Regions from separate parts of the Homo sapiens genome. Here region 2 is linked to region 1. Evidence: promoter capture Hi-C in human tissues and cell types (Jung and others, 2019). All regions are on one chromosome and are shown on one strand. Each heading gives the region's core, a stretch centred on a gene start or on the middle of the fragment in contact. The rest is flanking DNA. Distances are from core to core; before and after follow the strand shown.

What was found. The method cuts DNA at HindIII sites, captures the fragments that hold promoters and counts their contacts. A contact is called where the count stands out against the background at its distance.
Region 2: a contact is called between a fragment that was not itself captured here and the fragment with the promoter of DIRAS3 in region 1, in 2 of the 25 tissues and cell types used here (H1 embryonic stem cells and mesendoderm cells).

The regions. Positions count from the first base shown.
Region 1 is chr1:68,047,310-68,052,642 of GRCh38, forward strand. It overlaps DIRAS3 (DIRAS family GTPase 3), which reads right to left and starts at 3,318. Exons shown (of 2, transcript NM_004675.5): 1 at 3,239-3,318; 2 at 1-53. The region is part of intron 2 of GNG12-AS1 (GNG12, DIRAS3 and WLS antisense RNA 1); the gene reads left to right. It also overlaps the pseudogene ARL5AP3. The HindIII fragment of the contact is 12,521 bases long and covers 1,225-5,333 here.
Region 2 is chr1:68,347,290-68,353,181 of GRCh38, forward strand. No RefSeq gene overlaps it. Among named protein-coding and RNA genes, the nearest start is that of RPE65, 100 kb to the right of the region's middle. The HindIII fragment of the contact is 6,161 bases long and covers 1-4,664 here.

The DNA.
Region 1 (5,333 bases), core at 2,068-4,567:
GAGGGGAGATACGTGCACAAGTTCTCCCACACTTAGCTGGCAGCAGGAGACCCCTAGGAAGAAAGTGAGACGGTGAGAGATGGTAGTGGTAACCTACAATGTTGTCAGATCATGTCAGCCTGGCCAGCTGCTCCACTAGGACTCTGAAGAGAGTCCACCCTGTGACGTAAAGGGGTGCACACAGCGAGAAGAAAATTCCCAGGCACACAGTTCAGCCTGCTAGACCGAGGGACCAGCAGGTGATATATATTAAACAGACATGGTGGTTTGCTTTTTACCATCTAGAAAGTGCAGCAATACTACCTTTTGTTTTCTTTCCTTAAACTGTTTTATTAAATTCTCACTACACCCCTACAAGAAACACTCTCATTTCCTCGCTTGTAAAATTAAGATTTTAATTGAAGAGGACTGAACAGTCAAAGAGAAACAGGTGAGGGAATTTTCCCCACTCTATGGGGCTGAATGCCAAGGTGACATTTAGAGTGACACCGCCGCCCTGGTTAAAGCTACAGAGTCATCAGTACAGGAGAAAGGAGGGGGTTTTTGGTATCAGTGGTGTGGGATGTAGAGAGGGGAGGTACCTGCAGTCAGTGCAGCCCCAGAAGAGGCATGGGGAGCACCTTTGCTCTGAGCATGCTGTCACCATGTGCCACCAAGAGCTGAGGGAGGGGTCTTAGTTCATGAATCCTTAGTCACAATGACAGTGGAGTAAAAAAAAAAAAAAAAAAAAAAAAAAAAAAATATATATATATATATATATATATATATATATATGAACCTTTCTCTTCAGGATCTAATCTCTGATTAGAAAAGATTGTAAATATTGAATGAGTTTTTCTACAGAACAGTGGTTTTTCTTTTGCCATGGCTACTACCTTTAACAAAGTACTTTTAATTCAGCCTTATGGAAATAGAGAAAATTTCAGGATTTGAACAGTCAATGAACTTTTTGAGTTCAGGAATAAACATAGTAGATTAGGTTTGTAAGAAACTTTTCTCACAGGTATATCCTAAATACCAGACAGCTGCCCAGGGGGACTGCTTCAGAAGCATCCTAGGTCAGATGGAAAAAGTTCTAGGCACCATGCAGACAGACCACATAGCTGGCCTCTGGACAGAGGTAGGAATAGTACAAGGCAATGTCATTCCTGTGGCACTAGGTATAGAAATTTATACATGTTTCTAGGTGATGATGGTCCTTAAAATGCACTTCTCTTCAGGTACAGCTATGATTGTGTCATGTACAATACCAGAAAGAGAAGAGAGGCTTTTTGTGAATAGCACACTCCCTATATAAACTAGCCTGTCTTGCTGGCTGCGTAGTTGAACACATACTCTCCCAGTACTGGGGAAAAGGACCCTTTTTAGAATGTGCAAGTCCCATGAGAGAGTAATATGTCCATATTAGAGTTTTGGTGGTGGTTTTTTTTTTTTTGTTTTTTTTTTTTGAGTCAGGGTCTTGCTCTGTCCCTCAGGTTGGAGTGCAGTCATGCGATCATGACTCACTGCAGCCTCAACCTCCTGGGATCAATCAATCCTCTCACCTCAGCCTCCCGAGTAGCTGGGACTACAGGCATGTGACACCATGCCCAGCTAATTTTCTTATTTTTTGTAGGGACAGGGTTTTGCTATGTTGTCCAGGCTGGTCTTGAACTCCTGTGTTCAAGTGATCCTCCTGCATCAGCCTCCCAAAGTGTTGGGATTACAGGTGTGACACAACATACCCACCCCATATTAGAGTTTTCATTTGAAAAAAAAAAATGTTGTTGCTGGTTGTTATATCTTCAGACTTAACTTGCTTCTAATTCTAGTCTGGCTTCTTTAAGATAGTGTGATTCTAAGAGTGTTCTAAACTTAAGTGGCAAAATTTAAGTAGATGATTTTATATTCTTGATTAAAGGGGGCCAGGGAGGTTAATACAGTAAATATTTGAAATTGATATAAAATAAATACATACATATATCTAAACCATTCATTTTTGCAGCTTTCAGGTAAAATCTAGCACTTTATTCCAGTCTATGAGATGTGGTTAGTTGATATCATCTAATATTAAGTAATGACATCAGCTATCCAAATCCTGGGCACAATTCCTTTAGCAATGATGACCTTTAATAGAATTTAGCTTAAAAAACTAGGAGATTTCTGCTACAGTGATGCAATCTTTCACATCTTATTTATTAACAAAAATCAACAATCCAGCTTTCCTTAGGTCTTCACGCACTAAGAGTTCTCTAGTCACAGAAATCCTAGCCTTGTCTGCACTCTCCACAACTATTATAAACTCCATGTTAGTATCAAGAGTTCCAGTAAAGACCAAATATCTCTTGGCCACCAACATCCCACATTAGGAAATGTGCATTACTAATTATTCTGTTTTACATTACTTCCTGCTCTAGGGGATGTATGTACAAATTCATTCATAGAAAATTGGTAAAGCAGCCGGGCGCATTGGCTCATGCCTGTAATTCCAGCACTTTGGGAAGTCAAGGTGGGAGGATCGCTTAAGCACAGGAGTTCAAGACTAGCCTGGGTAACATAGGGAGACCGCCGTCTCTATCAAAAAGAAAATAAAAGAAAAAAAATTGGTAAAGGACACACGTGATAACTGAAGTTTCCAGATGTGAAGAGAATTCTCATTCTCAGGCAGTGGACCCCCCCCCCCACTCCCCTCCACACTCCTTCCACCTTCCCAGGCCACCTGGCCTCAGGCTGAGGGGGAGGTGAAAGTTTCCAGGAACCAGAGGGCGTCCAAACCCAGCGGCCGTGCGGAGCTCAAGGTCCCGCCGCTGCTGTTGCGGCACCAGCCTGGCTCATGGACATCACCACGCACCTGCAAGGTCAGGTTTCTCTCTGGTGGCTGTGGCGGCTGCTACCCTCCTCGCCCATTTCAATCTTACTTTCACACTACATGACTCCACTATTACTTCCTGAACACTAGCTACCTACGCAGCTGTAATAGTGGACACTGTGTCAACCTTTAAGCTCGCACACTTATCAAACCTCGTTCTTCTATATTAAAAAGTGCTAGCTTCCCAACGGGACTATCCAAAGTGCAGTTGCAGGACCTGCCAGGAGCCCGCAGGGCTGCGGGTGGTTCTTGCGTAATCGCGCCAAGAAAGACCTGGTTCCAGTTTCAGGGACAACTCGCCCATAAACTTCTACTGCGCAACAGCATCTGCTGCTTTGTCTGACACTTGTTGTTTTCAAGTACCCCTAAAAAAGCGAAAGAAAGACTTACCTTTCTCGGAGGCACGAACCAAGCAGCCTAGAAGACAAATGCGCTGCTCGGAGAGACTGCCGCGGCAACCAACTGGACACCCCAAGAGCTCACTCCTCCGCGGTTTTATATTCCGACTTGCGCACAGGAGCGGGGTGCGGGGGCGCAGGGAGTGTGGGTAACAGGCATAGATTCCGCTTGCGCAATACGTGGTAAGAAACCAGCTGTGAGGGGCTGGCCCAACGCAGAGCGGCGCGAGGTCCGCTTGGCATCTACAACAATCGAGGGGCTAGTCCAGAAGTTCAAGGCGGGGTTACAGGTTGGGGAGGAACTGTTAAACTGTGGACTTTTTCTCACCTGTTGGAATAAGCTTCAGGCAAAACTTTGCCAACAAAAACCGGTCCAACTGATTTTAGACGAAAGTCCAAAAGCAGTTTAATGCAGGACAGATAATCTTTTCCACAAATGATACTGAAAAGACAGGACATCTATAGATTCCCCCCCGCCAAAAATAACCCTTACATAAAAATTAAGTGGCTAGATATAACTGTGACGAGTAAAATTACAAAACGGTTTTAAAAAACAACAAACTATTGTCTAAGGCTAGGCAAAAGGTTCTTAAATTGACATTAGTGGCAAGACCGGTAAAAAGAAATGTTGATGAATTAGACTCCATAAATTTAAAACTTTTGCTTTGTGAAAGACCCTGTAACGATACTGAAAAGGTTTACCTAGGAGAAAATATTTACAAGCCATATATCTGGCATACAACCAGTATCTAGAATATGTAAATAACTCAAAAATCAATTATTTTTAAAAATCCAATTAGAAAATAGTCAGAAGACATAAACAGACACTTCACTGAAGATATGCAGATGGCAAATAACCATATGAAAACCTTTAATGTCATTAGCCATTAGAGAAATGGGAATACGAGGCTTTCGTTGTTCTTCGCCTCCCACTAGGGCGGGTTGAGGGTCTGGCTCCAGTAGCCCCGGGTGCCTCTCACTCCTTGGGCGCAATGCTACTATCCTGGCAGAACCCTCGCCGAACCCTCGCAGGACGCCCCATCGGGTCCGCCAGCGGCTAGGAAGCCCGATTGTGTCGTTCCTTTTTCCCTCTGCGCCTCCCACCGCCAGTCCCTTTTCCAAATGCGCCTGCGTCTGCCCTCCACATCTCCGAGCTCCGTCTGGCTTCTTTCTCCCTTGCCTGTGAGCGCCTGGCGGCGGATGCATTGAAAGCTGCGCACCACCGCCTACCGAGCGTTTTGGGGAGTGTGTGGAAGTTGTTGGCAGCAGGTTTTGACAGCAGTACCCTATGGGCCTAGTCGTTGACGGTAGCACCTGGTTTTGTGTGCCCCAGCCAGCTGAGGCCAGGGTGTGTGGTGTGGGCCACTGGTACTGCTCTTCTGCCACTATAATCCCTCCCCCTACCAGGTACCTGGTGCGTAGAAGTCTAAAGACCTGTGAGGTCTAGCCTGGCGCCTGTAATCCTAGAGAATAAGGAGGTTGAGGCCAGGAGTTAGAGACCAGCCTGGGCAACATGGGGAGAACTTGTCTCTACTTTAAAAAAATTTAGCCCAGTGTGGTGGTGGCCGCCTGTAGTCCCAGCTATTTGGGAGGCTGATGTGGGAGGATCACTTGAGCCTCCCACATCAAGGAGATCGAGGCTGCAGTGAGCCGTGATCACAGCCACTGTACTCCAATCTGAGCAACAAAGTGAGAACCTGTCTCAAAACAAATTCCAACCTGATTCTGGTATAGCATCACATGACAGGTAGCAGCCCTAAGGGCGATCAAAGTATTTTACCCCAAAATATATTTCTGACATATTTTGGAATGGTCCTGTGCAAAGCTATCTTTTGCGAGGGAAATTTGTGTTCTGTGGACAATCTCCTTCCCTTTCCAGGTCTTTCTCTGATCCGGGAGAGATTTAACTAAGAGTCTGACACCGTTTAAGGTCATTTACCTTTTGAGGTACATATGCCATCTATTCTTTCTGAAGCATATTACAGGCTTCACATATGTAACAAGAACCCTGGCTTCCACAACCTCCCTCCTGCCACCACTGGCCAAACCCCTCCTCCTCCAAAATGTACCGGCTTTCCAGGTCAAAC
Region 2 (5,892 bases), core at 334-2,833, 300 kb after region 1:
ACTCCTGACCTCGTGATCCGCCTGCCTTAACCTCCCAAAGTGCTGGGATTACAGGTGTGAGCCACTGCGCCCAGCCCTCATCCATAAACTTCTTTTTGAAAATGCCTTAAGTTCAGGGTCCGGGGTATAATTAGCATATTTCATCACCACAGTGAATAGTTCAGGATTGAGCATATACCCAAATTGAGACTATAAATGCTGAGGATATTTGGTTTTGCATTTTTTTGTTTGACATTTTGAGAAGAGACTTTCCTCTTTCACTGAACTAGTTCTTGTGATGATGTGAGCCTGCTGCCACCGGAAGCCACCTTGCAAAGTCTGAGAATGCAACCAACATAGAGGAAGTAGAACTGAGAAGTGAAGCCAGCTGGACTTCCTGGGCCAAGTGGGGACTTGGAGAACTTTTAAAAAAATTATTATTATTATACTTTAAGTTCTAGAGTACATGTGCACAATGTGCAGATTTGTTACATATGTATACATGTGCCATGTTGGTGTGCTGCACCTATTAACTCGTCATTTACATTAGGTATATCTCCTAATGCTATCCCTTCCCCCTCCCCCCACCCCACAACAGGCCCCGGTGTGTGATGTTCCCCACCCTGTGTCCAAGTGTTCTCATTGTTCAATTCCCACCTATGAGTGAGAACATGCGGTGTTTAGTTTTGTCCTTGTGATAGTTTGCTCAGAATGATGATTTCCAGCTACATCCATGTCCCTACAAAGGACATGAACTCATCCTTTTTTATGGCTGCATAGTATTCCATGGTGTATATGTGCTACATTTTGTTAATCCAGTGTATCATTGATGGACATTTGGGTTGGTAACTTGGAGAACATTCCTGTCTTACAAGAGGATTGTAAAACGCACCAATCAGCACTCTGTAGCTAGAATTGTAAAATGCACCAATCAGCACTCTGTAGCTCGCAAGGGGATTGTAAAATGCATCAATCAGCGCTCTGTAAAAACATACCAAACAGTGTTCTGTAGCTAGCAAGAGGATTGTAAAATGCACCAATCCGTGCTCTGTAGCTAGCAAGAGGATTGTAAAATGCAACAATCAGCACTCTGTAAAATGCACCAATCAACACTCTGTAAAATGCACCGATCAGCAAGATCCTAAAAGTAGCCAAATGCAGGGAGTATTGAAAAAAGGGCACTCTGATAGGACAGAAATGGAACATGGGCGGGGCCAATAAGGGAATAAAAGCTGGTCACCCCAGCCAGCAGCAACAACCTGTTCGGGTCCCCTTCCATGCTGTAGAAGCTTTGTTCTTTCGCTCTTCACAATAAATCTTGCTGCTGCTCACTCTTTGGGTCTGTGTCATCTTTAAGAGCTGTAACACTCACCGTGAAGGTCCGCAACTTCATTCTTGAAGTCAGTGAGACCATGAACCCACCAACAGGAACCAACTCTGGACACAGAACTAAGGAATGGCTCCTGGAGGCATCATTTTATTCCAGAATGAGGCCACTGCTGAAGTCAGCCCTTTTTGTATATTTTACAATTACATTAGCCAATAACTTCCCTTCTTTGTTTAAGCTAGATTGAGTTGGGCTTTTTAATCACTTTCAACTAAAAGATTCCTAACTGGTAAACTGTTCAATTCTGAACTTATAGCCTTGTTCCAACTTGATTCTCTCTTGGTATTTATTATTTTAGTGATTGCAATTATCATCCATCCAGTTGTGCCAACTAGAAATTTAGGAGTTATCTTGACACCTTAATTTTTCAGTTTCCATATCTAATTCACCACTGAATTTTGGATATTTTGTCATTTAATCATATTTTGAAATGATCTAATTTTTATTCCATATCCACACTCTAGTTCAAGATAGCCACATCTCTCACTTGAACTGCTACTACTACTAAAATAATATTACACCTAACCTTCTCTGAGCTCCTCATCCATTCTCCCATCTGTTTTCCATTCTTCATCCAGAGGGATTTTTTTCAAAGTACAAATCTGACCATATAATGTCCCTTTATTCCAGTCCTCCTATTAAAACCCCAAAGTTACTCTTAGAATAATGAAAACTCCTAAGAAAGTTTGACTCTCACCCATCTCCTTCATCTCAGTGACACTAAAGTCTACACTCTAAAGTCACTGAGGGCCACTGCATAAGTTGATTCTTCTGCCCGGAATGATCTTTCTTCCCCTTTTCAGATCTCAACTTTGGGCCATTTTTTTGATTAAACCTCGTCTGGCCTCCATGATTAAGTCAAATAACAGTATTCCAGAATTCATATCACTGTGTGCTTGGTTTGGGATCTATCACAAACTAGGGGTGATATCTGTTTCTTGACTACATTTTTATTCTTTTAACATGAATGAGATAGTTAAGACAGAAACCAGTCAAAAGAATTCACAAAGCATTTTTTCAACTACGAAAAGCAATGTCCAAATGATAATTTATCTGCATTGCTGTCTGTCTGAAAGAGGTCTTGATTCCCAGAGTGGGTGTTGATGGGACAAACGTGGTTGAATGGTAGGAATGCGAAAGAGGCAGGAGGACGTGAATGTGAAAATCGATTGACGTAGAACAGATGAACCAGGCATTCTATTATTTTCTATAACTTGCTGAATGGGAATAGGTTGTGACTGATCTTATTATTAACCCTGGCTTGGAGAAAAATCCTTATAATTTCACTCTAATGTCAAAGTTTGAAGCCTATACAGCCATCCCAGGATAAACTGAACAGATCCTGTGGCAGCTATTGGTGTATGCTGCTGTTATTTTCCTTGAAGTGGGAACACTCTGCAAAGAGAAGAGTCAGTTGACAGCCTCTAGATGCTGCAGGTTTGGGGTCCATTGAAGTGAGCGTGATGAGGCTATATGGTCTCTGGGCTGCTCTCAGACAGTAACTGAGCATGGCAGGGGTACTAGAGCTTAGCCATTCTTGTCCAAAATGGGATTCCTCTAATGGGATAACTTTGCTCTGGGGTGCCTTGTTGACCTGGTCAAGACTCTCAGATCTGCATCACAGTCTGGAGCTTTGCCTTACCACTTTTCTTCCCTTCCTCTTTCTTTTCATAGGTCGCAGATGAGCATCATGGTCTGAAGCCCCTTCCCTCCTACTCCTGTTCCTTTTCCTTTATTATTCATAGTCATTTACCCCAATTCATCATTTGCAGATCTAATTCTGCCTTGGTATCTGCTTCCAGGAGGATCTGAACTGACACACACATTCACTTGGGAGCTACTTATGGAAGAAAAGGATGTGGAATGTTTTCCTCTCTCCTTTCACTGTATCTGGAGGGAGGAAAGTAGATTTGGTGTTAGGGAAGCAGGTTTCTTTTGGCTACCTGTATGTTGGTGATGGCTAGTTTGCTGCACATTCCAAAGCTGATCATCACCATCCATCAATTTCATCAATATCTCCTGATGTGGGGGACCTATAGATTTGGATGGTGATGAACATGGCCCTGAGCCACTGTCTAGGCATCTGCGGTTTCTGTGAAGTTTTACGATGCATCTTCCATCTGAAGCCATCTTACTTACAACTCCCATGCATGTGCCTCTGATGCATGCGGTCGATTTGGCACAAGCCTTCCCTTCCATCCCTACCCATCTTTTGATGTCCCTATTGTGATCCAATTGTTTATACCTCTCAGGAGACATGGTGTGTATGTGGCGAGAGTAGCTTTGCGGCTAAGCCTTGCCCTCTTCTGCCAATACCCATCCCTTCCTTCCAAAATGCTTTTCCCTAAGTTTTGTTAGGAAACCCTGAGACTAAGCAGACCAGAAGCTGGTAAGCAAGATGCCAGTCTCCTGTTCCTGTGGTGCCACTGTACCACTGTAGTATGGCTGTCTAATGGATTCCCCCAAACCAGGAGTCAGGGTTCATGCAACATGCTCTTCACATCCAGGAACTTGAATCTGACCCCAAAAGATCTCTTCCTGTTCTTTAGCTCATCTTAATTTTACCTTTCTCCTAGCAAGAGAATGGAGGTAGGGAAGACGAACTGTTCTTAGTTTACTCTGATTTTTTCCTTTGGTCCCACTCTGGCAAGTTCTTCATTGAACTTGATCTAGGACATTTTGGAGTAGGGGGGTAGTGAGGAAAGCAAATTAACATTTTCAGTGGCTGTCACTGGTCAAACACATACCTTGCAAATCTGTCTAGTTGCCCACCTTGTTAAGTTACAAGGCTTTAGTAAGATAACATATGTAGAGTGTTTAGAAGAGTGCCTGGACACAGTAAACAATCAGTAATATTAGCTATTATTTTACATTGATGAAAAATTTAGCCAAAGCCAGAAACAAATTTTATTATGTAAAAATCTTATATATTTCCTAATTCTCCCAGCAAAAGTGAGAATTTATCAAGTACTTATTCTGTTCAAAATGGCAAAAGAAAGTAATATATTGTATTTATAATTTTTAAAATGATGGGATTCTAACTTACTGGAGAATCCACAGGCACAGAATTAAAAGGGAAGGGTCCTTTGGTAAACTTCCTTCAACGCCATCTGCTTTCTAATGCTATGCTTTCTTCTTGAATTTCTCCTCAGTCTGTGCTTTGGGGCATCTCTAGTTCAGGAGTAAATGACTTTCACTATGTGAAAATAATGACATTTTCATCCCACGTAGTGCCCCTGGACAGAGTCATTTCACTCTGTCTGTATGATCTGCATCACCATGTGGATGTTGTATGAATTGGGCGGCTGTGGCTTCACTGGGTCAGATTTCCCAGACCTTTACACTATCACTATGTTCGAATACTATAGCACATTTTCTCTCAATTATTATAACAGTGTGTTTTAAAATGAGTGATTATTAAAATATTATTTTAGAACAGTTCCTGTTCTCGAATGCTGCCAGCATTTGTACTCCTAGGTAATCTTTTACAGCAGGGGTTAGCAAACTGCAGCCTACCACCTATTTTCGTAAGTAAAGTTTTGTTGGGACATAGCTATGATTATTTATTTTTTCTTTGTCTGTGGCTGCTTTTGCACTATAATGGCAGAGTTCAGTAGTTGCAATACAGATCATAGGGCCTATAAGTCTAAAACCTTTACTATCTGATCCTTTATGGAAAAGGCTTGCTGACTTCTGTTCTGTAGCGTGATTATTTCTGCAGAGGAATGTCCACACCCAGAAGATACAGGGTGGGGTTCTCTGACTTTTTTTAGAGGCAGATATTTGGCCACTTCTGAAGAGGAGGGAAGGGGATTTATTAGTTTTCTAGCTTACTCCAGCTGGGTTATATCAGCAGGGAGAAAGAACAAAAATCGGTGCTGTTGAACACAAGTGACTTACTGTTCCCTGTCCATGGCCCTGTTTCAAGTTCATCCTTAGGCTTGTGGCCTTTAGGACTCAGCTCCCTTTTTTTGGAGTTATATTAATATGGCACTATCAGTTTGAAAGGGAAGGAGAGAAGGATGGTCAGATTTTCCCTTTCATCAATATTTTGCCTAAAGTTGGCAGCCTTTCCTCTCAGCTTTGGGACTCAAAGATTATCCATGCTCTTTTAATATTAATATTCTGCCTAGCAGGGGGCAGCTTTTGAAGTGTACCTACATTTTGCAGTTGATATAGTTCATGTTTCCTTCAGATTTTTTTTTAAACCAATTGATTGAGAATGGCAGACTTTCTCACTGTCTCCTTCATGTGTCTTAACCTCTATTTCATATTTTCCTTTTGTCTATCTGGCAGTGCTTTGCTAATTCTTTTTTTTTAAATCTCCATTTTCCAGTTCACTAAATCTCTCCACTGCTGAGTCTAATTTCCTGTTTTTTAATTGTGATTTTTTCAATTTCTAGAATCTCTATTTGGCTCAGTTTTATATCTAGCTGGCGGATTCTAATAGTCTATTATGCTAGTGTCTTATTTTTCACTACTCTTCAATTTAAAAAAATATACTAGACATACACATCTATTATTTT